Regions from separate parts of the Homo sapiens genome. Here region 2 is linked to region 1. The links are contacts of gene promoters, found by promoter capture Hi-C in blood cells and fetal thymus (Javierre and others, 2016). All regions are on one chromosome and are shown on one strand. The core of a region is centred on a gene start or on the middle of the fragment in contact, and the rest is flanking DNA. Distances in the headings are between cores, read along the strand shown.

The links. The method cuts DNA at HindIII sites, captures the fragments that hold promoters and counts their contacts. A CHiCAGO score of 5 or more calls a contact.
Region 2: a contact is called between a fragment that was not itself captured here and the fragment with the promoter of C1QL2 in region 1, in 4 of 17 cell types (monocytes, M2 macrophages, M0 macrophages and 1 more). The highest score is 8.2, in monocytes.

The regions. Positions count from the first base shown.
Region 1 is chr2:119,157,340-119,160,132 of GRCh38, reverse strand. C1QL2 (complement C1q like 2) reads left to right here and starts at 1,382. Exons shown (of 2, transcript NM_182528.4): 1 at 1,382-2,547. The coding sequence starts at 1,864. RefSeq lists an enhancer at 2,204-2,793. The HindIII fragment of the contact is 3,837 bases long and covers 1-2,793 here.
Region 2 is chr2:118,867,861-118,870,560 of GRCh38, reverse strand. No RefSeq gene overlaps it. Among named protein-coding and RNA genes, the nearest start is that of EN1, 22 kb to the right of the region's middle. The HindIII fragment of the contact is 1,381 bases long and covers 580-1,960 here.

The sequences.
Region 1 (2,793 bases), core at 133-2,632:
ATCACACAGCTACTCAGGGCAAGAGCAGAAGCTGGGGCTTTGATTTCTCCGCTGGAAGTCTCTCCCACACCGGCGGGCCTCTCATCCTTCCTTAGCCTCACATGCTACATTGGAGATAGACTATTCTGCTCTCATCTGAGGCCATGGTTTATTCAAGACTGGCTCAGAATGGCTTTGGACTATTTGGACTATTTTCTAAAATAACTAAACCCATCTCAGGAGGAGGAAGCTGGGGATGTCCAAGGGAATGTGCCCATGCATCTGCCTGGCAGTGGCCGGGCTTGGAGTAGAAGCTGAGTGCACCATGATCACTGCCAAGTGCCGGCATCAAGCATTTGGTTTCTACACCAGCTTCACGCAGAGGACAAGGGCCAGCCATTTTCTGGTGGAAGAAAAGGTCTGAGGCGAATATTCCTTTTTTTTTTTTTTTTTTTTGAGATGGACTTTTGCTTTTGTTGCCCAGGCTGGAGTGCAATGGCACGATCCCGCCTCACCGCAACCTCTGCCTCTCTGGTTCAAGCGACTCTCCTGCCTCAGCCTTCCGCGTAGCTGGGATTACGGGCATGCACCACCATGCCCAGTTAATTTTGTGTTTTTAGTACAGACGGGGTTTCATCATGTTGGTCAGGCTGGTCTCAAACTCCCAACCTCAGGTGATCTGCCCGCTTCGGCCTCCCAAAGTGTTGGGATCACAGGCGTGAGCCACTGCGCCCGGCCGCAAATATTCTTGTATTGGGAGCCTTGGGCTTTTTAGAGTCACCTCAGAGGTTAGTGGGGTGCTCTACGGGAGCCTGTTTAAGAGTCTGGAGTCCTTAGTCTAGGTTTGCGAAAGATCTTCCAGAAGCGAGATCTATTCAATTCTGAAGAAATAACTCAGGAGGTCTTTCAGAAACTCCTTCCCGCTGGACCTCACGGGACTCTCCTGGACTCGGTGGGTTGAGGTTTGATCCTCTTTGCAGGCCAGGGGATGGATTAGGTGACCCCAGAGGAGCCCTGCTGACACCTGGATTCCAGCTGCTTTCGTGGCCATGTGGGGGTGGCTGTGCGTGCCCCGCCACTGCGTGCGTGGGTGTCTGTGTGTGTTATCGGTGGGGGGCGCGTGAGTGTGGCCGCGGGTGGGTGTGTCCGATGTGCCCCGGCTTGGGACCGCGCCCGCTGCGCCCACTTGTGGCTCCTGGGAGCCGCCAGGGGGAACCGCGCCTTCACCGCCTCTGCCGAGGACGCCGCCAGATAGGAGGCTGATGACATGAGGGCTCCGTCTCCCGAGTGATGGCAGCGCGCGCTGCTTCGCCGCCTCCGCCGCTCAGCCCCGGACTCCTTACGTCAGGGTAGCGGGGTCCCCCCTCCGCGCGGGAGCCAGCGAACAGCGAGAGAGCACAGCAGAGCGCGCCGCGGAGCCGGGGCGCCCTCACTGCGCTAGGAGCCCCACTAAACCCAGCGGAGCGGAGCCTGGCGGGAGGCAGCGCCGCGGAGCCAGCGCCGGACGCCGCAAGCAGACTCCCCGGCCAGCGCAAGCACTCCCTGGCCGGCGCCGGACCCTCGGGGCGCCGGATTCGTCTTGTGTGCCCCACGTCATGCGCGCGGGCGTCCGCGGCTCTCCCGACCAGCCCCAGCGCGGTGGGCCCAGGCTCAGAGGTCCCGGCGCCTCTCGCTGAAGTAGTTGGGTAGCCGGGGCTGGGGGTCGCCACGTCGGGGGCGCGGCCAGGACCCGCGGAGCCGGTCCCCGAGCGCGGGGAGCGGGGCCGCCCGCGCCGCCCCACCATTACCTCCCCGGGCGGCAAGGAGGAGCTGGTGGCGGTCGCCTCCCGGCTGTGGCAGCGGCGGCGGCGTGCCTGCCTGGCGGCCGTCGGCGTACTCTTGGCCATGGCGCTCGGGCTGCTCATCGCCGTGCCGCTGCTGCTGCAGGCGGCGCCCCGAGGCGCCGCGCACTATGAGATGATGGGCACCTGCCGCATGATCTGCGACCCTTACACTGCCGCGCCCGGCGGGGAGCCCCCGGGTGCAAAGGCGCAGCCACCCGGACCCAGCACCGCCGCCCTGGAAGTCATGCAGGACCTCAGCGCCAACCCTCCTCCTCCTTTCATCCAGGGACCCAAGGGCGACCCGGGGCGACCGGGCAAGCCAGGGCCGCGGGGGCCCCCTGGAGAGCCGGGCCCGCCTGGACCCAGGGGCCCTCCGGGAGAGAAGGGCGACTCGGGGCGGCCCGGGCTGCCAGGGCTGCAACTGACGGCGGGCACGGCCAGCGGCGTCGGGGTGGTGGGCGGCGGGGCCGGGGTAGGTGGCGATTCCGAGGGTGAAGTGACCAGTGCGCTGAGCGCCACCTTCAGCGGCCCCAAGATCGCCTTCTATGTGGGTCTCAAGAGCCCCCACGAAGGCTATGAGGTGCTGAAGTTCGATGACGTGGTCACCAACCTCGGCAATCACTATGACCCCACCACGGGCAAGTTCAGCTGCCAGGTACGCGGCATCTACTTCTTCACCTACCACATCCTCATGCGCGGCGGCGACGGCACCAGCATGTGGGCGGACCTCTGCAAGAACGGGCAGGTCAGTGACCCCTACACTCACCGGCCCCCGTAAACCCTCGCCCGCGCCCTGAACCTCCCAGGGAACCAGCCTCCTTTCTCTCCACCCGCGGGCTACCCTGCGAGCCCCGGGAATGAACGCGCCTCGGTGCCACAGTATCTCCGCTTCCCGATGCGCCGAGGCCGCGCTCACCGGGACGTAGAGCCAAATGTTGGGCCTTGAGAGCCCAGAGACCCCCATACCTAAACTACACTCCTTGGCCACTTG
Region 2 (2,700 bases), core at 21-2,520, 290 kb after region 1:
GGTGTACATATACGGAAAAGTTTCATAAGCTGGACACTTCAGATCTGTAAAATTTTATTGAATGTAAGTTTTACCTCAATAAGAAAATGATCTAAGACATATCTGTAAGATTAAGTCCGTATTCATTTCAATTCCTTGAATTTAGATTTGACGGACATATAGACAAGGTGAGTTGGGGTTTCTATCTGCTCTCTATGAAAACAAGGAAATTAGTAGCATATACAATGGCCATGCTGAGCCTCCTTATGAGTGAAGAGTTGTTGGAGAATTGTCTTGACAGTTTGGAAAATTACAATCTGTGCAATCACATGTATTTCACATTGAATGTGCTAATTATAAGCATTTCTTATCTGTTCACCAGGTCAGATTTCCCAGCCACTGCCACCAGGGCCCCTGGAGTCTCAAGAAGACTTAATTGCCATCTCCCAGTGTCCTTGACTGAGGACCTGTTTAAAAGTGCTTTAGCAAATGTTTGAGCTGCAGGAGGAGTGCCGAGCTGTTCATTTTGCAGTGCTCAGAGGGTGAGGACCCCTTCTGCTGCTGTCCTGTTACCCTGGTTCACTGGTGGATGTGCAAGCTTGCTGTAGCCAGAAGCCCTCGTTACATTATGGTCTTCATGTTTAGGAAAAGCATTATTGAAAGCAGAAGATTGTGAGCCCCAGCTCCCCTAGAGCCTGGAAAGGAAGGGGAATTCAGAGTCACAGTCTCACTAAATTGAAGCTGGGGGCTAGGCCAAGCACATTTCCTGCATTATATAATGTAATCCTCTCAGTGACATGGCAGATGGCACTCCAGACCAACATGGGAGGAGGCAACAGGGATGGGACTACTGGGCATCCACGTAGAAAAACATAACATCGAATCCCTTCCTCCTCCATATATTCTGTACTTTTCAGTAAATCTCAGGTACACGGAGGATTTACAGGTGAAAGGCAAGACTTCAAAACTGTTCAAAGAAAATATAGAAGAGTATCTTTCTGACTTTGAGTTTGAGATGATTTCTTAAACACAAGAGAGAAAAAGCACTAACTACAATAAGGAAACATTAATAAACCAGACGACATTAAAATTAACTCTGTTCATCAAAAGACACCAAAAGAAAAGTGAAAGGCAGGCCATAGACCAGGAGAAAATATACGCAACATCTGTAGCTGGTAGATTACTATCCAGAATACATAAAGAACTCCTGCCAATGCATTAGAAAAAAGGACAGCCCAGCAGAAAATGAGCAAAAGCTGCAAATAGGCATTTCTCAGAAGAAGGAAGTAAAAAATAACCCAGTGAGACACAATTGTAGTAAAAACGCTAAGTTCTGGGCAAGACATGGACTTCAATGTTAATCCATTTCTGCTGTTTCTGATGAATGTGTATTTGATGCAATACAACTTGATGCTTTCCACCACAATGTGATGGAAATTTGTGACCTAGCACTTTGACTTCATTTATATACATGAGAGCAGGGGTTTGCAAACTGAGGCCTGTGGACTTTGTTTTTGCTAAATAAAGTTTTATTGGAAGTCAGCCACACTTACTTGTTAAGATATGGCTGCTCTTGTAACACACAACAGCAGAGTTGAGTAGTCGCAACAGACACCTTAAGGCTTCAAAGCCTACAATATTTACTAGCTGATATTTTGCAAACAAAGTTTGCCAACCCTGATCTAGAGACAGTTTTAAGGTATCATTTTCTTTTTACCTATAACTTTCTAGAACCCATACCATTTTAACAGGCTTTATTTTTAGAACAGTTTTAAACTCATAGGGAAATTGAGAAGACAGTAGAGAATTCCCATAGACTCTCTCACCCAGTTTTCTCTGTCATTGACCTTAGCATGGTACCCTTGTTACATATTGCTACATGATTAACTAAAGTCCATAGTTCATTCACATTTTCTTAGCTTTTATCTAAAGTCTTCTGCTCCAAGATCCCATCCATTTACTTGACATATTTCCTTAAGCTTCTCTTGGCTGTGAGAGTTTCTCAAACTTCCCCTGTTTCTGATGACCCTGACAGTTGAGCAGTACTGGTCAGGTGTTTTGTAGAATGTCTCTCTGTGGAATCTATTTGATGTGTTTCTCATGATTAGACTGGGGTTATGGACTTTGGGGAGGAAGACCACTGAGGTAAAATGCCATTTTTATCATTATATGAAAGACATGTACTAACATGATTTATCACTGTTGCTACTGACCTTGATCACCCAGCTGAGGTAGTATGTGTCAGATTTTGACACTGTAAAGTGACTCTTTCCCCTATACTCCGTGGAGGGAACAAACGCATCATGCACAGCCCAGCCCACACTTAGTGGGTAGGGATGTATCCTCTTCCTTGAGGCTGAAATATATAACATATGTTATATATAATGTTACATATTATATATGTTATATATAATGTTACATATTATATATGTTATATATAATGTTACATATTATATATGTTATATGTTATATATAATATATGTTATATGTTATATATAATATATGTTATATGTTATATATTATATATGCTATATGTTATATATTATATATGTTATATATTATATTATATATAATATATGTTATATATTATATTATATATAATATATGTTATATATTATATTATATATAATATATGTTATATATTATATTATATATAATATATGTTATATATTATATTATATATAATATATGTTATATATTATATTATATATAATATATGTT